5 separate regions of the Homo sapiens genome follow, and regions 1, 2, 4 and 5 are each linked to region 3. The links are contacts of gene promoters, found by promoter capture Hi-C in blood cells and fetal thymus (Javierre and others, 2016). All regions are on one chromosome and are shown on one strand. The core of a region is centred on a gene start or on the middle of the fragment in contact, and the rest is flanking DNA. Distances in the headings are between cores, read along the strand shown.

Region 1 (4,946 bases), core at 1,930-4,429, 1.3 Mb after region 3:
GATGTAAACTATCAAAGTAGAAATTTCCAGAGAGAGACTTAAATATCAATTATATGTGCATCCAATTTGTAGGCAGCTCTTCCCCACACCCCTCCCAGAAGCCCACACCAAGGCCCCTCTGAAGGCAGCTTTGAAAATCCAATTCTGTACTGGTTTCATGAGAATTTTTCATGGCCAGGGGAACCAGGTTCAGAGTGTTCACAACACTTTTTTTCCCCTTGAAATGGAGAACAAAATCAAATTTTAGAGAGATTTTGTGGATATGTATTCCTGCTGAATGATGGGAAAGGATCATTAAGTACCTTATTTGAAACCAGAGTAGGACTCTAACTTTTGAACTTTCACTGGTTTTTACTCATTCACTGCTGGCAACATTTCAAAGGGTAATTTTTTTTTTTTCAAATTACTGTTAAAGGAAAATGAGAAAACAATTCTTTTCTTCATCTGTCTCTTCCCCTCGCAATAACTTTTCAAAATATTGGTTCTTCAGGCTCACTTTACTCCCCAAACAATTTTGCCTAAAAACCTGCAGCCCCTGATATTGACATCTTCTCAATTTGCATAGCACCCGTTTACATAATCAATCAAACAGAGTAAAGCACGCATCCTGTCTGAGTTCACCTCTTGGCCCCTGGACAGGATCCGACAATACAGGCCCCATCACAAGGACAACTCAATAACCCATTTTATCGACTCCAACCGCAAAAGGGAAGTTAAGGTGGACCCCGCTGCGTGGGGAGCTCCAGGTCAGCTTTCATAGAACACAGATGTGCCCCCACTTCCCTGTTCACTCCAACCAGAGGAAATAATGTAAGAACAACATCAGGAAGATAGACTCAGCAACATTCCCATGCAGTAAAACAAGGCTCCCTGCCCCTGCAGGCCTCCAGACCCCATCTCCTTCCATCAGACCCCAGAAGAACAAGTCGGGGAGGGGAGGCGATACTGCCCGGCTCCTGATGAAAGTCTGGGAGCATCAGCTTAAAGAACATTTGGAAAAATGCTTTGCAGAGTAAATATCTCCCAACTTCAAACTACTGCTGCCCAGTGTCCAGGAAACCAGAAAGCCCATATCATGGCATGGTTGGATCACAATTATTAAAAACTGCACACTCCATGCCTTTGACGGGGTAGCCAGAGTCCCCAAATTAACAGCAAATCCAAACAACCCAAGCATGGATTGGCATCTTCAGAACAGCGCTGGAGTCTCTCGTGCCACGTAACACACTGCAATTCCCCACTGGCGGGAGGAGCGTGCCTCCTGTGTCCTCTGCCGCACCGGGACAGCAGCCACCACCACAACACTAGCAGCTTCCAGAGTCCCAGGGCCACACGCGACAGGTGAAGCAAGCCTCTCTGTGAGGATGGCCCTTTGCTCTGCTCAAGGAAGGAAGCGGTGCCTGAGCAGGGAACCTTCCCCATCAGCTGTGCATGCAAGGACTGTCCTCAAGACCCGCTTGTCAGAGCAGTGACTCATCCCCGAGTCTCCAAGAGTGAGGCCGATGGGGCTGGCAGAGGAGTGGCCCTGCGATTTCAAAGTTTCGCCTCCTCTGACCCTCCTTCTCACACTAGGTTCGGCTACAGATGAGGGAGCTCAAAGTTCTGTTCCTTCCGATGTGTGGCTAGTAGGGAGGGTCTCAGAAGGGGCTTGAGGCTTTCCTTATCTATCCCAGCAACCAGCACCTGTGGGGCCCCTGGCTCCAAAGGCTGGGCATGGATGTAGGTGAGGAGGGACATTGTTCTGGAAGGAATGGAGGCATGCAGCTCAATCAACCTCATCCAGAGCAACTTTGCCAGAGGCAAGGTGGATTCTTACCACTGTAAGAGCTCCTCTCCGGTCTCGGTCTCGGGAGAGTTGAGTCTCTGAGCTGTTTATGTAGCAGAAAGACACTTAACCACAGGCAGGGCACACGGGAGACCTGAGAGCATCCTCTGAAAGCCATTGTCTGGAAATGCAGGCTCTGTCCTCCAGAAACGTGCCCTGCACACTCTTCAGAAATGTGGGCAAAGCTCCCTGAGGAAGGCAGCCTCAGGGCTTCGTTGGCTGAGAGCAAACACTAAGTCAACTTGATCTAAGTTGTTCTCCTCCAAGCTTCAGTTTCTGCCATCTGAAAATCTTGTTTGGAGTTTGAAACAGGGCAGAAGCGGAGACACGGGGATCCCAGTGGAGGCACGAGATGGACCAAGGGCTCTGCACTTGCGGAGAGGCCCTGGCCAGGTGCGCCCAGCCCTCACCCCTAAACCTACCTGGTGTGAGCCACCAACAGATCCTCAGGAGGGAAGCTGGTAGCCCCGTCAGGCCGCCCAGGCCAGGATTCCTGAGAGGCAGCAGCCAGAGCTATCTCTAGAAGTGGCGCTTCCTGTCTATCCCTCCATACACAGGGCAGCAGACAAAGCTGAGCCCTCTGCTGAAATGAACTGAGCCAAATGCTGATCTTTATTTGGGGGGCATCTTGTAAAAATATTAGATCCAATTGATGCTCTGCTCATGAACAAGCTACAAAGGTGACCTTGGAGGGACTTTTCTCCCACAGGCCAGGAGCAGCGACAGCAGCGGCTCTCACCTTCACCACCTGGCTGCGCTGCATGCAGGAGGGGCCCAACAACCCACGTGAAGGAAAAGGAGGTAGGAGAGCCACTGGATCCTGAGCCCCGCCGGAATCCGTGGCCCATGGCGCCACTGGGAAAGATCCAAGGACCACACGCCCAGTGTCCAGCAAGCCTCAGCTCCTCCAGTGGGCATTTCCAGAATCCCCAAGGCTGCCCGAGAGCCCCTTCACTTCTGCTGTTAATACACAGATGTCATGAAATGCTGGGTGACCTCTAAGGAAGGGATCCGTGCACCCACACTGCAGACGCAGGGGAGCGGCCACAATGGTAACAAGTGGGTGGGCAGGACTGTAGCCCATTTCTCCTGCCTCGGCCAGTGTTCTTTCTCACACTAACCACAAGTGTGCATGCACACGCACATACACATAGGCACACATGCTCACACGCATAAGTACATGCTCACATGCACACACACACACAGGCTCTCTGTGAGCAACAGGTCCACGCACTCCCTGGTAACCGGTTACCCGCAGCTGCAGGCTTCTAGAAGAACAACCACTCCCTGGGATTTTCCTGGGAGGGGAGACGTAAGATCGAGGTTTGGATCCCCACACTCACCACACTCACCACACTCAGATCGCCTTGTTGCCGTGTAACCGCAGTCCTCTGACCCTTGATGACTCTCAAAACCGTTCTTGTCATATAATACATGAACTATGCATAAACAATTCTGGGTTATGATGTGTTTCCTAAAACTAAGAGAACTTCAGCCATAACACTGACATTTTGTTTCTGGAAATTAAACCCTGGGAACAGTGAAAATAAAGTCCCTCAATTTATGAATTGTATTTCCGTACATACTTCAATTCCCAGTGCTTGCGGTGAAAGAGAAACACGATTGTGTTTCTGATGGCGTAGCCACTAAGACCAGAGGGCCTGCCCCTCCTAGGTTCTCCACTTCATACCAGGAAGCCAGGCTCTCCAAATAAGGTCCTCACTAACAACCTGGGTGACCTAATACTTCAGGAAATGACGAGAATAAACCCAAGCAAGATGGATTTGCCCATTGCTCTTGGGAAACAGTCACCTCCGCCTCTGCCCTGTTCCTGGCAGGAAGGGGCAAATGCCTGGGAGATGCTGAGACAAGTTTGCCAAGGCCTTGGCAGAGTCCCCAGGCTGGCATCTCAGTATGAACCTTGCCAGTCCTGGGACTTCTGCAGGCAGAAAATGTGCACCCCCAATGCCCAGCAAACTGTGGGCCCTGCAGATGTGTGCTGGGCTATGAACAAGGGTTTGGGGGAGGTTGAATGATTATAATTGCCAAGTGAGGCGAAGATGGATCGGATTCTGGTGCAGAGAGGAAGGTTGAGAGAAATGGAGGAAGGTGAAACCAACAAGAAGTGTCCGGACACGCTAGCAGGATTTCAGCATACAGAGCTAACAAGATGCGGGGGTGAGATACACATACAAGCTGGAGAGAATGGGGGCATGGGCAAAGGTGGGGGGCCAGAGAGGCTTGGAGTAGAGAGGGAAGAGTGGGAAGTTCAGTCAGATGCAAGCCCTGGAGATGAGCAAGGGAGTTGAGAGGTGCGGACGTGGCCCCTAACATGAGTACATGTCAGGTGTGTTATTTCCCTGCATTGACTGCCCTCCTTCTCCTTCCTCCAGGACAAACCCTCCATCCCCACTGGCCCTGCTCAAACTCCGCCTCCTCCAGGAAGCTTTCCCTGAACTGCTCAACCGGCAATGAACTTCTTCCTCCCTTCTCTAATTTCTATAGCACACCTCAGCCATCAGTTCAGGGCCACCACAAGGTGTGCACAGGCATCTCACAAGTTTGCAGAAATGCCTTCGTAGACTGTGTTCTTCTGGAAGAAAGATCACTTTGTACACATGTACCTCCCTGCAGTGTGGCTTAACCCAGGTCCAGGCACACCAAGACTTCAGGAGGGGCCCACAAACTCAGAGGGAGGCTGGCATGGGAGCAGGACAAACCATCCAGCCCCACACCCACCCCAGCCCCTATCCATGACTCCACCAACCAGGACTCTGCCTGCCTTCCCAGCCCTTGGCACAGGAACCCCAGCTTCTAGCACCTTCTCCAAGGCTCCTGCACCCTGCCTGGAAGGCAGCCCCTCGCCCCCAACCTCCTCCCAGAACTCTTCAGTTCCCCACACCACCAGCCTTCCACAGCTGAAGGCCATAGCTCATTAAAGCCAGACGTGTAGTGCCCCGTGCCACATTTCCTGGGCCTCAGCACTTCCACAGAGCCCCACTGCCAGGAGGCCACATATTCAGCCCCAGGGGCAACCTGTCTGGTCAGGGAGGCTAAAAGCAGCCCTATCACAGCGAATGAGCAAGCCCACTCTTACAAAACCAGAGTGGAGCCATGGGGG
Region 2 (4,681 bases), core at 981-3,480, 1.3 Mb after region 3:
CCATAACCATTTTCTGCCTTGCACTAGTTACTTGTCCTTGACTGTCTTTATTTTCCCTTCTGAGCTGACTTTCTTGAAGGCAGGGCCCCCAACCTGATCACCATGCCTCAGATAGTATCCAGGTTTTGCCTTCAGCCCCTCAAATAATACATATAAAAATGAACAAATTCCAATATTTATCCACAACCTACTTGATGGCCTAAAAATGCATTTTAAATGGGTGTGTCTGAGGTAACTTGTGAAAAGCCCTGGGGTCAGGAGCCAAGTCCTACCTCAAGGAGCAGCATAAAGGCTTAGCCCAGCCTCGTCCAAGGACTGCCAGGTAAAATAGAGAACAGACTTTGATCAAAATATGGTTGGAAACAGGATGGTTGTGAGAACTATGGTTGTGTTCCTAGTGTGTTTCCCTAGTGGGACTGTGGCCATCTCTTCCATGATGGCCACAGACCCTTCCATTGACATGTGCAAGGCCACACTGAAGGATTGCACCTGCAAGCCAACAGAGTCTAGCAGCAACCAAACCTTCTTCTGACTTGACGTCACCAGCCGTGGTACCTCAGTGAGGGTGAGTAAGGCAAAAGGGCCACCTGCTCCTGCCAGGCCTTAGCATACCATCTAAGCTTTTTCTTCTCAGTCCTGTGGTATTGTTCCATTTTCACACTGCTGATAAAGACATACCTGAGACTGGGCAATTTACAAAAGAAAAAGGGTTAATGGACTGACAGTTCCACATGGCTGGGGAGGCCTCATGATCATGTCAGAAGGTGAAAGGCATGTCTCACATGGCAGCAGATGAGAAGAGAAGACTTGTGCAGGGAAACTCCCCTTTAAAAAACCATCAGATCTCATGAGACTTATTCACTATCACAAGAAAAGCACAGGAAAGACCTGCCCCCATGATTCAATTACCTCCCACTGGGTTCCTTCTACAACATGTGGGAATTGTGAGAGCTACAATTCAAGATGACATTTGGGTGGAGACACAGCCAAACCGTATCACCCATGTTCTCCATATGCTCTAAAATCTTGGGTTATGTAGTTTGAAGGTGACTATATTATATATGAAAAGGGAATCATGTATGAGAAGGAACCCTTGCTATGAAGGGCTGGCCCACAATTACAAGATATCCAGACTACAGGTGAGATGGCCACTGTATGAATGGAAGTCAGCTGTGCCCCTGAGCTTCATCTCACTGTTGTCCCCACCCCTGTCCTCAGGAAATTCCAGCTGACTAGGGAAGAGAATGCCAGTGTATAGTTTGCAGCAGGAGGAACTCAAAACATCAGTGACAGTGCCCCAAAATGCTTCAGTTTCCATGTTCTCTTTTTCATTTTTTAGGTCCTATTTTACTTCCTTACCTAATACTTATTATATTGGAGGTATGATGTAAATTGGAGTAATACTGACAGACCTTCTTCTTTGATAGACTAAGCAGTGTTGCTAGAAACAAATCATTGCATAACTAAATCATGATCCACCATGCACATAGCCCACCAACCAATGGAGAAGACCAGCAGAACAGATAGTAGGCTATCTCTTCCAGCCTCAAGCCCCAATGCTGTCATTCCTAAGTTGAGACGTTGAAGTCTCTTTGCCTCCCTGGTACAGAGTCTGTTTGCCTTGTCTTGTCCATGAACCAGAGTTCCTTCAAGTCCTTTCTTGCTCTGCAGTTCTACAAACCAGTGAGCCTGCTCTTGCCTCCATGCTTGTCCTAGGCTGATGCTGCTCTGCTACTACTCAGTTAAAGAAACATTGGCCCAAGAGGACAGGCACAAGGACAGGTGGAAGAAGAAAGCTGTCCTGCCACCAGGAGATGGCATGGTGGTATGGCAGTCCCAGGTCCGAGGTCAAGGAGTGGCTGGGGAACAGAGGGAGAACTTTGAGTATTTCTGCCTGGGTGCCCTCAGCTTGACATTCTCTCATTCAGCAGGGCCTCAGAGAGAGCAGACAGACACTGGAGATCCAGGCAAGAGTAGCTCAAGGTAAGGGTGTTCTGGAGTATACTTTGGGGGACAAAGGGCAGAAGAAGAAAGTTGTCCATGAGTTCACCAAGCCCTTCCTCTCTTAAGATGAGTCGTTCATTGAGTTTCACCATGGGGAGATGGCCATTGTGAATCAGCCATAGTCAACACTCTTTGAGGTAGAACTGATGAGCTTTGCAGATGCCTCAGCAGAATTACTCCTGGACAAGTGTTGGGTGTCAGAGTCACCAGAATTTGATGGCAGCCCCCAGTGGAACATAATAAATAGGTACATATCCTCAGCTAGCAGCTGAGAGGGCAGAACCAGAACCCCAGTCCTACCAGATATAGCCCAAGATTCTGTAAGAATATCTTACATGCTAAAGCAAGATCCCCAAAGTGAGGACCTGATATGGTTAGGCTGTGTCCCCACCCAAAATCTCATCTTGAATTATCCCCACAATCCCCACTTGTCAAGGGCAGGACCAAGGGTGGAGGTATGGGGGCAGTTTCCCCGGAGCTGTTCTCATGATAGTGACTCTCACGAGATCTGATGGTTTTATAAGTGTCTGACATGTCCCCTGCTTGCACTCACTCCATCCTGCCACCCTGTGAAGGAGGTGCCTGCTTCTCCTTTGCCTTCTGCCATGATTGTAAGTTCCCTGAGGCCTCCACAGCCATGCAGAACTGTGAGTCCATTAAACTTCTTTCCTTTATAAATTACCCAGTCTCGGGTATTTCTTTATAGCAGTGTGAGAAGGGACTAATACAGGACCAAATCTCCCAATAGATCTGAGTCTACCAAATGAGACTTCCATCACTTCTGTGCAGCTTCTCAGTTAGGAACTTCCCCTGACTTCTAACAGCCTCAAGCCCCCGCCCCAGTCCTACTCATACTTCCTCATGTATAAGAAAGGGTCAGCCAGTCCTCACCAGTCCTCAGATAACTACTGGAATGGACACAAGGTTTCTCCAGAGTGCCTCACTCCTTGTTTGTCTCCAAATTCTTCCTGACAGCTGCAAAAAAGAGAATAACCTGCTAGAGGTAGACTTTTACCCTGTCTCCCAGGGTGAGAAGGTCCAATACCCCTCATTGGTCAAGAAGCTGGTGAAGTTTGTGGCACCCAGATTCAAAGAGGTGAGATCTCAGAGAACCAGAAAGGGCTAAATAGGAACCTAGATTCCTGTTTATATGGCCAGTATGGGGACACTGAGCAAAGTCCCTGGGAGCCCCAGGTCCCAAGTACTTCCTAGGCTTTTATAAAGAGATCTGGATGACATGTCCTGCTTGGTGACTTGGCATCAACGTTTAGAAGTCAAGTCTGACAGATGGCAACTGGTAACCAGATTAAGCATGGAGGGTGGGGACAGGGCAGCCTAGCATGAGTGGGACCCTAGCTGATCCTCTGCTTAGACAGTTGTTGACTCTGTGACCTAAACAGGTCATGTCTCCTTTTTGAACCTTACCACCTTCTGCAAAATGGAGCATTAACGTTAAAGTCACTGAAGACTTTAGAAGTATTGATAAAGCATTCAATAAGTAGACTTCCTAAGAGGAAACGAAACTGACTCATTCCTGATCAACACCCTCAGAATAATCCCATTTCATGCCTAGATGCAGGAGGAAGCTCATTATCTTCCCCATCCCATTCTCACACTTTAACTCCTCCTCTCCTCCTCTTGTCTCCTTGAAGAAAGCCTGCCCTCTTACTAAAGCCAGTTGGGAAGAGGTCCCATAAGGCTTTTGTCTTAGGAAAAAGTGTGGGTGGGAAGGAATTGTTGTTGGGTCACTCTTGGTTTCCCAAGGCCCTGAGACAGGAACTTCTGTTCCTGCTAGAACAGAATGGCCTCTGCCCACACCGAGCTCGAGATGCTGTGGAAGCTTCCAGATCCTTGGCTCCTTAAGGTTTGTCCTGCTGTAATGCTCAGTCTTCTGCTATTCACCCACTTCCATTCTCAGGTGTATCTGTACCACCTGACCCAATCCTGCCTACACTTGGACCCTGACGGGCATTGTGGTGGCCAGTACTATCCAGAGGAGAGAGAAGGAGGTAAGAGCAGGCCCCTAGCCACGTGTCCAGTAGCAACACTGAGAAGTTCTGCCCCAAAGGTCCTGCCCATAAAGTTCTCTGCACTTTCCCCCTCCATCCCTCCAAACAAACTCACCCTTCTGAAAGCTGCCTCAAGTCCTGACCAGATGGCACCCTCCTGCAGAAGTCCCTGAACAGCAAGCACTCTGCATGTCATGCCTACATCTCAGCCTGAGGAACTCTTGAAGAGGCCTTTCCTCCAGAGCTGAGTGAGCTCTAAGAGCTCTTTGGCCAAAAACCCCTGGCTCTTGCCCATCACACTTGCCTAGTGTCTGGCTACGATAATTTTCAGGCATTTTATGAAACATTTAACAAGTCTGATTACCCTTCTAGGAGACAGTCCTAGAATAGAGGTCATATGAACATAGATCTTAGTCCTCCTGCCTCAGTGAGTCCCTCACCCCATACACACCTTGAACTCAGGCCAGAAGAGAGCACTTGACCATCTGGCTCTGGTTCCAGTGACTCCAGGACTTATATGCCCACAAGCCAAAAGAAGATCAAGATCTGAGTGGGAACTGTGGAAAGCATGTCATGCGAGCCCCTGCCGCCCTTGAAACTCTGCGTTCCTCCTCCTCAAAGAACAGTGCCTGAAGGTCCTGGCTGTGGCCCTGGCTGGCCATCTTGCT
Region 3 (4,922 bases), core at 2,126-4,625:
TAAATGTTAACCATTGTTATTATTCTATCATCTACTACTCCCTTTCATCTTTACCTCTACCTTAGCACTGGTGTTCCTGCTTCTAGGCTCATCTATGGATGGAGCCTTGGTGGATGGGCTCCGGGATATTCTAGACCATTGACTGCGCACAAGGTACCCTCGAGAGTCTGTCTTCCGCAGTGATGATTCTTGTGATCCCTGTGATGGAAAGAAGAAACCCAACGGTGTAAAACCCCATCACCAACTCCTTCTATACGTGTGCCTGCAGAATAGTCATGTCAGGCTGAATATAGCAGCACCCAGTGAGAAGATCCCTGGCCTCAATGACTCTTAACTCAACCTGAACTCTTCTGTACTATTCTAACTCTGGTCTAGTCCTCACTTCTGTTTGGAGCATCTATGTGGGGGTCCACTTGAAAGAGCATCCAAAACCAAGATGCAAACATATTTTTTCACTGTGACTCCTCTTATGTGGATATTAGTATGGTTCACCATTGTTCCTCCCTTTTCCTCACTTCTTCCCTCGAGGATAAGCCTGTTAACAGATGCTGAAACAATATATCCACCATTTTTTACCAGACTGTAAAGGTGAGGGCAACTGGTGCCCCACTGAGGTTGCAGGGGGACTCTAAGGCAGCTGCTGAAAAGGAATGGAGCCCTCAAGCTTTTCTTTTAGGAGAAACAAGAATGAAGGACCCCCCGGAACAGCAAAGTAAAAGAGTTTCTATTTGCCATATTCTTCCCCTCACCCAGGTTGTCTGTGGTTCCCCTCCAGAATCGGTAGTGTGATCTCTGCTCACCCTCATCATGGTGATCTGCTGGCCCTGCTCCCACAACAGGCACATGTGAATATAAATACGTATTGTGTGGCAGGGGCCAAGGGCTGTTCCCTCAGCTGCACAAAGGCAGCGTCTACACGACGAGTGACCCTGGAAGGGGCAACATCTCAGCGAGTGATTCGGATTGACTGCACGCCTCATCTGAAAGATTGTGCAGAAAGTGGTCAATGCCATGGCCAGACCCCCTCCCCTCCCTGATTTGAACAAAGACCAGTCTCCCCCCTGTGTAGGCTGAGCAGAGGAGCCTGCTGTGGTTCCACACATTCGAAGTGAACACTAGGGTATGGATGGAGGGGAAGGCAGGGCCCAACCTTTCCTAGTTCCTTAACCTTCTCATGAGGACATTAGGGACGCCTTAATACAATTCTCAACAGCTTGGTCTTCTCTCCCAGAACTCCCTGCCCCCTAACATTTTCCATTATGCTTTCTGCTCCTTAATTTCCTCACCTCTGCTACAGAGATCAGCTCACCTGATTGCTCAGACGAACTCCTGTTTTGTCAGATTCCTTTCTTTTTTCTGCTTCTAGACTCTCTTTTGAGGACCTCATTCCAGGCTCATTCTTGACAAGGAAACAAAGAATGTTTATTAATTTTTAATCTCAGGGCATTAGGAACTTTGGCTTTCAGAATAAAAGGATAAAGAAAACACAAAATTTATTTATTTGCCAATATAAAAAGGTATAAACTCTAGACCTTAGTTTCCCCTGTTCTAACAAGCATGAGTAAAAGGTAACACATATTTTATTAAAAAGAATTATATAAACAAGTTTTAATATAGAAATTTGTTGGTTCATAGATTTGAGATATAAAGCATTTATTGTTTAAAGACTGATAACATGGGAAATATTAGAGAATTGTGAAGTTGTTTATGTAGAATAAGTTTGTTTTTTTTTCTATTACTCTGAAGATTGCTACTTATGGAACTTACTTTTCCTTGCCATTTAGAATTCAATTTTTTCTTGTTTTCATCATCACTACAGCTCAAACTTTTTGTGGCTCTAGCCTCACCAATATTAGTTTGATTTCTAAATATAAGGACCTTAATCTCATACAAATTTATTGAAAGTCATGTCTTCTGTTCCTATCATTTAATTACTCATAGATCTAGAGTGGAAAGGGATTTCTTACCAACAAATTAACAACAGATAGGGAAAACCAAGTAAAAGAGCACAAGAAGATGACTCACTTTATGGAACTCTACTCAAATATTTATGTTTTCATTTTCATTTGGAGGAGATACTTATTGGAATATTATTTGAACTGTTTCATGCTAAGTAAGTAGCTGCAATGTGATCAAGATTAGTGTTATTTATATGTTTAAGGAGCACAACTTCTAAGTTAGACCAAGATCCACTAGAGCAGTCTATATTCATCCGTTTATGCTCTGTGTCTTGCATGCAGGAAAAATCTCATCAATGTTAGTTGCATGAGAATGTTAGTTGCATGAGAGAATGGCATAGCTGTATGACTCCTGAACTAATTTTAAAATCTTTTCATCAACCCTCACTCACCTTATACACATACATAGCAGTCACCATAATACCTCTTACTTCTAATTCCAAATGATATTTTGAATCCAGTTCCTTTTTTCTATCTCTATTATCATTGCCTTGTTCCAGGTCTCTGACCATCCTGGGACTACATTTTCAGAATATAGCCTTTCAAACAGGTTTCATGGCCTTAAATCCTCTCCACTTCTAGATCTGTCCACCGTATTTATTTAGAGTAATATTTACAAGATGTAAATCTAGTAATGCTTCATTCCTGGATAAACACTTTCTTCACTTGGTTTGACCAGGAGCCTCATGATGTTTTCCTGTGTACCTGCTACTTGCATGCCCTTCACTCTATACTTTATCACTATGTTCTACTAATACCAAGTGACTTGTATTTGCCTGCATACACCAGCCTTATTTCCTTATGGTCTCCTCTTCTCTCCTGTGTTCTTCGAAACCCAGCTCAGTGTGACCTGGGGGAAGTTCCCAGAGTGAAATATTGCCCTGTGTTCCTTGTGTCTTTTGTACATACTTTTATGGAGCAATGAGTTGTCCTTTGTCTATTGTCTTTCCTACTAGGCCATGCATTCTTCAAAGACAGCCACTGTTTTTACCTTTTACTACTAACATATGAGTATATGCTAAATGAATACTGACTTATTGGAATCATTTATATACTACACGTTTTTTAATCTCTTTCTTTGCTGTCTTAATTTCTTTTAAATTTCTCCTTCTTCCCTTTTCTGTACTCTTTCCATTGCCTTTATTCTCTCCCTTCTCTTTTCCTCTACCTGAAGCCATTATCTGAAATTATTTGATCATTGCAGAGCCTTTGCAGAGGCAAATGATGGACTGATATCCACATTTCTTCAGCCCCATGGCAAGATTCTAAGACACTCGGTTCACTCACCTTTTTCTGTTTGAGAGATGTTTGACTCATTTTTTTACCTGTTGAAATTCTTTTGTTGTTATCCACATTTTTGTCTCCCCAGCTCCATTTCCTGTCACTTCCCTTGCTCAGTCTAGCTTTGCATTTAGAATGTCAAATTTATGACATCATATGTGATTCCATAGTAACAAACTGACTCTATGAATATGTGATTAACCTTTTCTTAAAAAACAAAAAATAAATGTTTCTTCATTTTGAGTGTATCTGCTCATAGCCATTGTCTTTGTTTTCAGAAATTGATGTCTAAACATTGTTCAAATGTTCAATATGTAGCAATATCAATATTACCACTTCCTTTTTAAATCTTTTTAAGCATTTCTCTGCCATTCATTATATTAATCCCATTTGTGACTGTCTGTTTCCTGGTACTGCCAAAATGAATGGCAAAGTCATTTGTGGATCCAATCATTTATCCATGTTCATTCTGCCAGACAGACTTTGGAGGGCTTTTCTCAGATCTAGAGACTATTTTTGACAGCTGGGATTTTGTTCCAGACATGGAGTTTAGACTTGAGTTTGAGTTTAGCTTTAATGTCTCATGTTTCTTTCAATGGCAAAACCTGTTGAGGAAGACACTGTCAAAGCCCCTTCCCCATGGCTAGACTCAGTGTAGAATGTTACCTTTGCTGCCCCATCCTTAACCCTTAACCCTGGGCTGCCCCATCCTTAACCCTTTAAACACTAAAGCTAAACTCAAACTCAAGTCTAAACTCCATGTCTAGAACAAAATCTCAGCTGTCAAAAATAGTTTCCAGATCTGAGGAAAGCCCCCCAAAGTCTGGGAGAGTGAACATGGATAAATGATTGGGTCCACAAATGAGTTTGTGATTCATTTTGGCAAGTAACAGGAAACATACAGTTACAAATAGAATTGATATTTGTAAAAAGTAGCCCCTAACTCTGGTTTACAGAATCTAAACATGTTCTCCATTTTAGTTTTCTCCTTTTATCTTCACCCAAGCTTTAGATAGGAGACATGTGCCATGCCAACCTGAGCTGGTGAAATCATCAAGGACTGAGGCAGGTTTCCAGCCTGTTTTCATGGGACAAGTTGATAGCTAAGGTTGAATATCGGAAGTTGTTGATGGTTTTAATTTAAGTTATCCAAGGAGTCTTTTAGTTAGTAAAACATTCAGGCTGTAGGTAAGAGTGCCTGGGTTTAAGTTATTTCATCTCTCCCCTACTCCCCACTGTACACCCAACCCCCAGCATTCTACCCAAAATTTGTACAGGGGTCATTTGTTTTTGCATGGTTATGATGTTATTGTGTAATATTTGTATAAGTTATGTAGACAATCAAAGTTGTAAGTGCTATACGTTTCAGAGTAACTTCAGAGAACCTTACCTTTTCTATTAAAATCACACCCCTAAGTACCAAGAGCATCTTTATTTTCTTAGTATGCTGTGTTTGGGGCCAGAGCAGCTAATGTGAATTTCATCTCATTGTAATTAGGTGTTTTATTTCTACTATTCAGGATTATAAACTCATTATGGCTTCTTAGCACTCCTTCGAGGGAGAGAGCAGAGGCTTCTGTTATAGGTTTCATGGGTAGGACTTCACTTAGGGAAGCCTGACATCCCAAATCTAGGGCTGTGGGCTGGAGTCCCTTCCTCCACAGTCTGGAAGCCTAGGCAAAA
Region 4 (4,997 bases), core at 133-2,632, 1.2 Mb after region 3:
AGCTTCTGGTGGGTAGGAGCCAGGTCTGATTCAGCCCCAGGACCTTGCCAGGGAATATAACCAAATTCCTTCCTAGACAATTTTGTTAAAAGAGGCCGCATCAGGAAATATTTATTTATTTATTTATTTATTTATTTATTCATTCATTCATTCATTCATTCATTCACTCATTTACGGAAGGATAGACTAAAAGACACCCACTCATGCTATAGATTCTGGAATGTTCATGTTAAATTCGGCCAGGTCGTCAAAGCTGTTTGTCCAGCCTGTATCCTTTGACCACCACCTCCCATTCTTTTTTCCTGACTTGGATATTGTCACTGTGGCCCCTGCTTGCACTGGGAACTGGTGTGAGAAAGAGCCATTGGGAGACACTCCGATTGAGTTTTGGAAGGAAAGCCATCCAGTTCTTGACACATTGCCCCACTGTTGTCTAAGATTTTTCCTAAGAATCTGGTTTGTTATTATCCTATGGGTGCTGCTACTGCTCAGATTTCCCTATTTGCCTTTGCTGCTAAGAAGTTTATAGACTAATTGGTGGCCCATCGCTGGGAATGCATACACAGGATTGCAGTTTGAGGATTAATCTTACCTCCAACATTTTTATTTTCATACCCCTATTTTCCCTTTGCCCAACCCCCTATATTTTATTGTATCTTGCTGTTTATAAACTGCCCCAGGTTTGAGACCAGTTGAGGTCTAAATTTATTAATTAATAGATTAACTTATTTTAAAGTGTTATGAGGCCGGGCACGATTGCCTGTAACCCCAGCACTTTGAGAGGCCAAGGCAGGCAGATGGTTTGAGCTCAAGAGTTCAAGACCAGCCTGGGCAATGTGACAAAACCCTGTTTCTACAAAAAAATTAGCTGGGTTAGCTAGTTGTGGTGGCACACTCCTGTAGTTCCAGCTACTCAGGAGGCTGAGGCAGGAGAACTGCTTGTGCCCAGAAGGCAGAGGTTATAGTGAGACAAGATAGCGCCGAGATAGCGCCTTTGCACTCCAGCCTGGCCAACAAAAGTGAAATCCTGTCTCAAAAAAAAAAATTTTTTTTTAATTTTTTAAGTTTTATCAATGAGGGTAGGTGAAGTTTTGCTACATAATAAATAATCCCAATATCTCAGTGGTTTAACAACACGAAGATCAATGTGTGAATTTATTTACAACACTCCCTTATTTATTTCTAATGCAGCATTGCTAGGAGCTATGCTCCAGGCCATCACCATTAGAGGTTGCAACCTGACATAAACTTCTATTTGACATATGCTTCCATGATCACTGCAGCAGAAAGGGGAGGGTAAGCATGCATTGGCTCTTAAAGATGCCACACATTACTTCTGCTCACCTTTCACTGGTCCAAGTATGTCATATGGCCATAACTGATTACAAGCAGAGCAGAGAAGTACAAAACTACCATCCACCTGAAAGGTGGAACACCAGAATATTCATGAATTCTGTTCATGGCAAACACAATGCAAGCACAACCATATAATATACCATTCAAATTGGGACACTTTTGAGAGTGGAAGGAGGATCTAACAGTAAGAAAAACTAAATAATTTTCTTAAGATTTATGTGTTGCCTTGCAAATTGATTATTTTATTGATAGACCATAAAATTATTCTATTCAAAAACTAATTTCAAAAATAAAATTTCTGGCCAGGTGCAGTGGCTCACGCCTGTAATCCCAGCACTTTGGGAGGCCGAGGAGGGCGGATCACTTGAGGTCAGGAGTTCAAGACCAGCCTGGCCAACATGGTGAAACTCTGTCTCTACTAAAAATACAAAAATTAGCGGGGCATGGTGGCGGGCGCCTGTAATCCCTGCTACTCAGGAAGCTGAGGCAGAAGAATGGCTTGAACCCCGGCAGGTGGAGATTGCAGTGAGCTGAGATCGCGCCATTGTACTCCAGCCTGGGTGACACAGCGAGACTCCATCTCAAAAAAAAAAAAAGTAAATAAAATTTCTTCTAAAACTATAATATAGACTTGTGTACATCAAGTCAAAAAAATATGTTGTAAAGATGTCAACAATAGATACTGGGGACTACTAGAGGTGGGAGCAAGGGAGGGGGCAAAGGTTGAAAAACTGTTGGGCTCTCTGCTCAGCATGTGGGTGGCTGGATCATTCACACCCCAAACCTCAGCATGACTCAATATACCCAGGTAACAAACCTGCACACGTACCCCCTGAATCTAAAATAAAAGTTAGAAAAAAAAGTTTTAAACCCATAAAATAAAATAAAATTATCCTTTCTTTTCCAACTAGGAAAAGAGACAGAGATTTTGGAAATTGTGAAGAAAAAGGACTTTCTACTCAACAGAAAAACTGAAAGAATATAAATAAATAATCACTGACAAGGAAATATAGTTAAGCAATATGAAAAATGCCCAACTTCATTCTTAATAAAAGAAATGCAGATTGAAATTTTTTTTAAAAATTTAATCTCTATGTTGATCATCTGAACATTAAAAAATAATGTAAAGAGAATAATTTATGTTTGATATGGATTTGCATATTTAATTCTGTTTCCTAGACATATCACCCTCTAATATTGTATCACCAAATTTTTCGAAGATTGTAATTTTTTCAAGCTGATCTTATCATTTTAGACTTTGCCATAAAATTGCCTGCAATTTTCTTCAAATTGCATGTTATGATTCATATATTTGAAGTCATCGATTCTTTGAATTGGCCCTTCTTTGTAGAGCACAATTTTTTTAATTGAGAAAACATTTTGCCTCCTGGTATTGAGATATCTGGAAAGCTTGGGGAAATTTTAGTGAAATTGAGGATATTGTCCATTTTAATTATTTTTCATATTTGAAAAGAGTAAATATTTCACTTCAAGTATTTTCACGGATACTTTCCTTTTGTCTCAGAGTAGTTTTCTTTGCCAAAACATGTCAAATAAGTTGTCTCTATGATTCTTTTGAGTGGTTCACCAGTTTTACATGTTCGAGATCATAGGCCTACTCAATTCCATTCCACCACATTGCGGAATACAAATTTACTGAACTACCATGTGAGCACCATCACAAGATTCACCCCATAAATCAAGATATTCCAAAGCACTTAGAAAATTTGAATATTAAGTGTGGCACACCATTTTATCTCTTGTGATTTTTTTTTTCAGCTTCTCCCTTGCTTTTGTAGAGAGAAATCTCAGTGTCTTCCTACTTACAGGGCTTGTTTTTAGTAGTCACAATTCAAAAAAAGATTCATAAGCTGATGTCTTAAGATGAATCACTTACTTAATTTTGGTTAAAATCTCCAGCTGGTTTTAAACAAAATGAACCAAAATTTAGAGAATTTGTTTACACAAAAGCTCTACAACATTTTAAGACACAAGTTGATTCACAAAGTAGTTCTTCAAAAATTCAAAGATTTCTAAAATCTGACTGATAATAGGCAGGAAAGAGAAAAGTGTATACTGTCATGCTAAACTATTATTTCGCACTCAAAATCAGTTTTGTCACAAAATTTTGTAGTTCAGTTTTCTGAGTACATATAAAATTACTTAATTTTTTACAACTACACTTTCTAATTCAACTGATGGGGGAAAAAAACGACATTTGGAAACAGTTATTAAGTATGTGTGCACCCAACCAACTTCAAGTACATTCTGAGTCTATTAATATCTTAATTTAGTAAGAAAGTTATTTCCTCTATAACACTGTGTTCTACCAAAATTTGTATTTTTATTATCATTGAAGAAAATCTCCAATATTCAATGTCTTAACATTTATTTCATCTGTTTCACTTTTGACTAAATGAACTTACAAAAGCATTACAAGCATACCTCAGAGATATTGCAAGTTGAGTTCCAGATGACTGCAATAAAGCAAATATTGCAATAAAGTGAATCACATGAATTTCTTGGTTTCTCAGGGCATATAAAAGTTATGCTTACACTATACTGTAGTCTATTAAATGTGCAATAGCATTATGTCTAAAAAATACTTTATTGCTAAAAAATGCTAATGATTATCTGAGCCTTCAGTGAGTTGTAATCTTTTTGCTGGTGGAGGGTCTTATCTCAGTGTTGATGGCTGCTGAATGATTAGGGTGGTGGTTGTTGAAGGTTGGTGTGGCTGTGGCAATTTCTTAAAATAAGACAACAATGAAGTTGCCTAATCAATCGATTCTTCCTTTCACAAAAGATTTCTCTGTAGCATGTGATGCTGCTTGATAGTGTTTTATCCACAATAGGACGACTTTCAAAATTAAAGTCAATCCTCTCAAACCCTGCTGCTGCTTTATCAACTAAGTTTATCTAATATTCTAAATCCTTTTTTGTCATTTCAACAATGTTCACAGAATCTTCACTAGGAATAGATTTCATCTCAAGAAATCACTTTATTTGCTCACCCCTAAGAAGCAACTCCTCCTCCATTGAAATTTTATCATCATATTGCTACAATTCAGTCACATATTTAGGCTCCAAGTCTAATTCTAGTTCCCTTGCTATTTCTACCACATCTGCAGTTACTTCCTCTACTCAAGACTTGAACCGTCAAAGTCATTCATGAGAACTGGAATCAATGTCTTCTAAATTCCTGTTAATGTTGACATTTTGACCTCCTCCAATGCATCACAGATGTTCTTAATGGCATCTAGAATGGTGAATGCTTCCTGGGCAGTTTTCAATGTGCTTTGCCAAGATTCAGCAGACTAATCACTAAGTATGGCAGCTATAGATTTACAAAATGTATTTCTTAAATAATAAGATATGAAAGTCAAAATTACTCCTTGATCTATGGGCTGCAGAATGGATGTTTTGTTAACAGACATGAAAACAACACTAATCTCCTTGTACATCTCTATCAGAGCTCTTGGGTGACTAGACACATTGTCAATTAGTAGTAATATTTATAAAGGAATCATTTTTTCTGAGCAATAGGTCTCAATAGTGGGCTTAAAATATTCAGCAAACCATGCTATAAACAGATGTGCTATCATCCAGGCTTGATTTTTCCATTTCTACAGCACAGGCAG
Region 5 (4,659 bases), core at 1,839-4,338, 1.3 Mb after region 3:
CATTTTACAGAGGAGGAAACTGAGGCCCCAAGAAGGGGCCTTTCAAAACCCCCTCAGAGAAGTCGTGGTTGAGACAATACAAGAATCCAGGTCCATTCAAGGGATTTTGCCTTCTACCAGCAAGCCCATAAGAGCTGCTCCAGGAGGCCTTATGGAAAGGAATGGGCCATTACAGCTTCCTTAGTTCAAAATAATCTAAAGCCATATTGTTGCAGAAATCTTACAAAACTACAGCTGCTGACCCTAACTGGGGTCTACTTTGCTCAGTGTTGGGACTAAATCAAAAGGCATAGCCCAGTCCAGAAGACAGACTGGCCTAGCCAGTTCTAAAGGGACATGAAGCCTCCCCCCTACCCCCCATGGTGACCAAGGGACTCCTCTAATCAATCAGGTGGCACAGACAGAAACACAGATGTAGTCACAGGAGCCAGGTGGATCTTGTTGTGGCCAAAGATGCTGGATCAGCCTAACAGAAGGTAGAACAAACAACTGAAGTGGCAGAGAGATCACAAGTTTAGGTCCCTGACATGGCACAGTCCAGACCAGATTCCCCTGCTAACTGCTTGACCTCCCCTAGGTCAAGCCAGAACAGGGGCTAGATGACAAAGAACAGATTGTGGCTTGTCTGTGAAATCTGTAGACCATCACAGACCACACTTAGAGAAGCAAGCATTCTCCTTGTCCCACAGAGCTGGAGAAAGCCTGGGTTCTTGGGTCAGATTCCCCAAAATAGGCCCTGAAATGAGAGTTTGCATTCAAGTGATTTCTTAAGGAAGTCTAACTGGGAGAAACTGGTAAGAACAGAGAAGGAAAGAAAGAAAGTGAGTTTGATCGTAGGCAGAGACCCACAGAGGACACTCTGAGTCCGATCCTGCTGTAAGACTCCTCAGGATTGACAAACCTTCAGCAAAGGCTTTCATAACCCCTCCCCTCACAGTCACTGGTCCAGGGGAGAGGTAACTGCCCACTCATTTCTGGCTTCTATGCAAAGTAAAGCAGCACCAGTAGCCCAAGGGTATGAGGGAAGTCCTTCAAAGAAGAGCTGCAGGCTCCAAGTGCTGGGGATTGGAAGCAAGAGCATACCCAAGACAGCGGTGCACAAAATGGACAGGGCCAAGGGGAGTGGTGGTGCACTGTCATTGCATCAAATAACAGCATAACATCATAGGGTGACCCAACTAAAGCCAAGCTGGAATTCACAGTCTTTCTGGCCACATGAGTAGAAGTCTGGTCATTGCTCTTGGAATCTGTTTAAATGAGCTGGTATACACGGAAGCTTTTTAGGAGTGAAGGGATGCAGAGACTCCTGGGGAGACAGATAGTGTAAGGAGGGGAATGGGAACCATACCAGGGAATGGTATGGTGACTGTCTCTCCCTCCAGCCCAAGACAGGGGTTCTGGATCTCTGTCACTTGTAGCCAGAGTTCTAAGTAACACACTTTATCAGTTTGCTAGGAGGGGTATAATGAGCGAATGGATGAAAAAAGTCTTCATAAATAACAAATGTTGTATTACTTCCAAGTCACATTTGATGGTCTGGAAAAAACACTGAAGGGTACACATAATGGTCACTCAGTGAATATCTATTAAATGAATGAATCAAACTGGCTGAAGGAGGAGGAGGAAGAAGAAAAAAAGGGAGAAGAAGAGGAAAAAGGAGGGAAGGAAAGAAGAATAAGAGTGGGTAAGAGGAAAAAGAAGGAAGGGAAGGGAAGGGAAGGAAAGGGAAGGGAAAGGAAAGGAAGGGAAGGAGGGAGGGGAGGGGAGGGGAAAGGGAGGAGAAGGAGAAACCCACACACAGAACTCACTGTATCTGAAAATTCTAGGGATAGGTCTAAATTCAGGCATGGCTGATTCAGGCCCTCAGAAGCTGTGGACAGGACCGTATCTCTCACCAAACTTTGGCGCTGCTTGTCTCTGTGTCGCCTTCATTCTCAGGCTCTGTCTGAAGTAGCAATGCTTCCACCAGTGGCTCTCAGTGAACATCCTACCAGCTTAGCACCCTCATGGCCCTTTCCTCATAGCTCCAATAGAAGTTCCATGATTGATTCTGATTCACTGACTTGAGCCATCTGCCCATTCTTGAACCAATTACTGTGACCAGGGAGATGGAATAAGCAGATCGGCCAGCCCTGGGTCACACGTTCACTCTGGAGCAGCTTACAGGTGGGTGGGGGTCGGTTGCTGGTCCCACCTGAACTGCATGAAATGAGCATGGGGGAAGGGGATTTCGCCCAAAGGAGAGCTGGGGTGCTGCTTGTTGAAGTAGAAAAACGAGGTGCTGGACATGCAAAAATCACAGTCTCCTACGTTCCTGTGTGATACCAAGACTGCTTCTGCAGCAGAAAAGGCAGAAAGAAGGGTGGGCCCTTAACTTCCATAAGCGATGCACTCTTAGATGTCTATGAACTATAGAGTCAAGGAAATTCAAATGTTTGTACCAGATCCAGGCTTTCTCTTGAATCACAGGTAACTGTTTTTCCAACTTCCATTAGTTTTCTCTCATTTGGGGAGCCATTTTGAACCATTAGAGAAGCTGTTAAAATGGTTTCAGGAGATGCCTGGTGTTTTCTTATAGAACTCCTGGTAAATTCATTTACACCATTGGAGTGAGTCCCTGCTGAATTCAACATTCCTTCTTCTAATTTGTCCAAAACTTCAAACGCTCATTTTCTTAACCCACCCAGTTTCTCTATACATCTATCTCCAGCAATAGTTTTTGGCATTCTTTAATGGTCATTCCTTTTCCCACTGGAACCAAGTGTTGAATCACCTCATAGCAGTTACAGTGTCCATGACGATGAACAGAGAATGTGAAAGTGGCTCTGAGGTGTGGGCAGCTTGCTGAGTGCTAAAGGTCTCTGAGAGAGACTCCTGTGGCCTTTGCCTCTGAGGATCTACTCACCCTTCTGCTGATAAATGTATTCTCTCCTCCACTCTTAGATCCTAGGTTTTGGTGGAGCTTCTCACCATAATTAGGGCTGGAGCCTATAATGTAAGCCTAAAAACCAACTAGATTATCACAGCTCCCCAGTCACAACAATTAATTTGGGACTCAGTCAGAAATAATGAGAGGCAATGAGACACTGGCAGAATTTTCTGGGAAAGAGACCGCTGCTATTAATATTTCCTGCTGGACTTGAATCTGAGGGAATATCAGGTTGGGAGCTAAGGCTGCCATTTAGTACCCTGAGAGACGGATCTGGCCTCCAAATGGAGTCAATCCAGAGGAAGTGGAGTTGAAGGTGAGGAAGAGGGAGAGACGAGAGAGAGGCTAGACCCTGGTGACATTGACTGAGTGAAGTGCCACCTGAAACCAGCCCAACCTCTGCCTTTTAAGAGAAGTGAGTTGATAAGTTCTCTTTTTGCTTACCCTGGTTTGTGCTGGGATTTCTCTCCCTGGAGAGCAAAAGTTACCAAGTAGATGCAACCCTATTGTATTTCAATACCCTCTCAGTCCCCACCAGCCCATGGGTTGACATCTGGTCACATTAACAACAGCACAATGGAGGCTCTTAGCTTCCATGCACTGCACATGGACTCAGCACCCCTCCAAGTCTCTCTCTCTTATTTCTTAGTGAAGATTTCACCAGTGGGTGTCTTATATGTTCAGGAACAATTTTGGTCATGTTCTTTCCTGACATTCTCTTATAAAATGACTGTGGCCAGAGGAGTGGGATGAGACCACTGACCTCATTCTGATCATGAGCAGGGCTGGGAGGAGAGTGAGTACAGCTGGCAGCCTCCATGAGGAGCACTCAATTCACATGGAGGAGAGGCCATCCATGGAGAAGAAGGGAGCACTATTGCCAGAAGAACAGAGAAGAGCGAGCTAAACACACAAACAAGGGGGCCCGCCATGGGTAGAAGGGCAAGAAGTGCTGAGACCACCCACTGATGAGGACAGGAAGGCCTGGGGGAGGGAACACATGTGCCAGTGGTCACTGGGTGAGAAGGTAGTGGGGCTCAGACTCAAGCCCAGGGGACCAGGGTGCTCCCCCTGCTCACCCATGCCTTTGCTGGAGAGCCATGAACAGTTTAGCAAGGGTCAGGAATGTGTGAAAGTTCACACTGCCAGTTCTGCCCAATCCACAGTCAAGTTCAAGTGTATTCCTGGATGGGGAGCAAAGGCAAGATCTGTCTGACAACACCAATTTCCCCCAACCTGAGTGCCAGCCCCCAAGGCTCCCTGCAATATAAACTGCCATGGAACACTGGCCTTAGACCCCTGCAGGCTTCCTACCCTCAGAAACAGCCATTCTATGGAATTACAATGTGGGGCAGGCTTGATCCAAACACTCCTGACTCACTGCATTGCAGCCATGCCCTGTGGGCTCTGATCACACAATTCTCTCACTCTTGATGAGCTTATTCCCCTGCTCCTTCATACTTTCCTCTCTCCCATCATCCCGGAATTCCCTTGCTCATTTCTATAATCTAAAGTCTTTCCTCTTCTTTCTCTAAGATTTTTCTTCTTCAAACCCCACCCCAACGTTCAAATCTGAGACTTCTCAATAGAAAGAACCCCAAATTGGAAGCAGGAGGCATGGGCGAAGGAGCCAACCCTGGTGCTGCCTCCTTGGATGACCTTGAGCCAATTCCCACACCTCTCTGGGCTCCAGCTTGCTCTTTCCAAGGCATTGCAGGCAAACGCTGGGA

Evidence for each region. Contacts are between HindIII fragments. The CHiCAGO score rates a contact against its expected background, and 5 or more counts as called.
Region 1: a fragment that was not itself captured here is called in contact with the fragment with the promoter of NT5C1B in region 3 in 8 of 17 cell types (total CD8 T cells, activated CD4 T cells, naive CD4 T cells and 5 more); the score reaches 14.4 in total CD8 T cells.
Region 2: a contact is called between a fragment that was not itself captured here and the fragment with the promoter of NT5C1B in region 3, in 1 of 17 cell types (naive CD8 T cells). The highest score is 6.1, in naive CD8 T cells.
Region 4: a fragment that was not itself captured here is called in contact with the fragment with the promoter of NT5C1B in region 3 in 2 of 17 cell types (activated CD4 T cells and total CD8 T cells); the score reaches 5.6 in activated CD4 T cells.
Region 5: a contact is called between a fragment that was not itself captured here and the fragment with the promoter of NT5C1B in region 3, in 9 of 17 cell types (activated CD4 T cells, naive CD8 T cells, monocytes and 6 more). The highest score is 12.8, in activated CD4 T cells.

The regions. Positions count from the first base shown.
Region 1 is chr2:19,856,641-19,861,586 of GRCh38, forward strand. No RefSeq gene overlaps it. Among named protein-coding and RNA genes, the nearest start is that of LINC00954, 9.7 kb to the right of the region's middle. The HindIII fragment of the contact is 2,179 bases long and covers 2,091-4,269 here.
Region 2 is chr2:19,879,636-19,884,316 of GRCh38, forward strand. It overlaps LINC00954 (long intergenic non-protein coding RNA 954), which reads left to right. Exons shown (of 10, transcript NR_033875.1): 7 at 1-565; 8 at 2,980-3,100; 9 at 3,923-4,013; 10 at 4,515-4,681. Among named protein-coding and RNA genes, the nearest start is that of LINC00954, 13 kb to the left of the region's middle. The HindIII fragment of the contact is 3,224 bases long and covers 619-3,842 here.
Region 3 is chr2:18,586,194-18,591,115 of GRCh38, forward strand. NT5C1B (5'-nucleotidase, cytosolic IB) reads right to left here and starts at 3,376. Exons shown (of 9, transcript NM_033253.4): 1 at 3,246-3,376; 2 at 1,310-1,399; 3 at 61-198. The coding sequence starts at 3,275. NT5C1B-RDH14 (NT5C1B-RDH14 readthrough) reads right to left here and starts at 3,376. Exons shown (of 11, transcript NM_001199104.2): 1 at 3,246-3,376; 2 at 1,310-1,399; 3 at 801-980; 4 at 61-198. The coding sequence starts at 3,275. All of the region lies in intron 2 of LOC105373456 (a long non-coding RNA gene), which reads left to right. The HindIII fragment of the contact is 3,581 bases long and covers 663-4,243 here.
Region 4 is chr2:19,819,866-19,824,862 of GRCh38, forward strand. No RefSeq gene overlaps it. Among named protein-coding and RNA genes, the nearest start is that of LINC00954, 46 kb to the right of the region's middle. The HindIII fragment of the contact is 2,764 bases long and covers 1-2,764 here.
Region 5 is chr2:19,840,314-19,844,972 of GRCh38, forward strand. No RefSeq gene overlaps it. Among named protein-coding and RNA genes, the nearest start is that of LINC00954, 26 kb to the right of the region's middle. The HindIII fragment of the contact is 3,629 bases long and covers 1,275-4,659 here.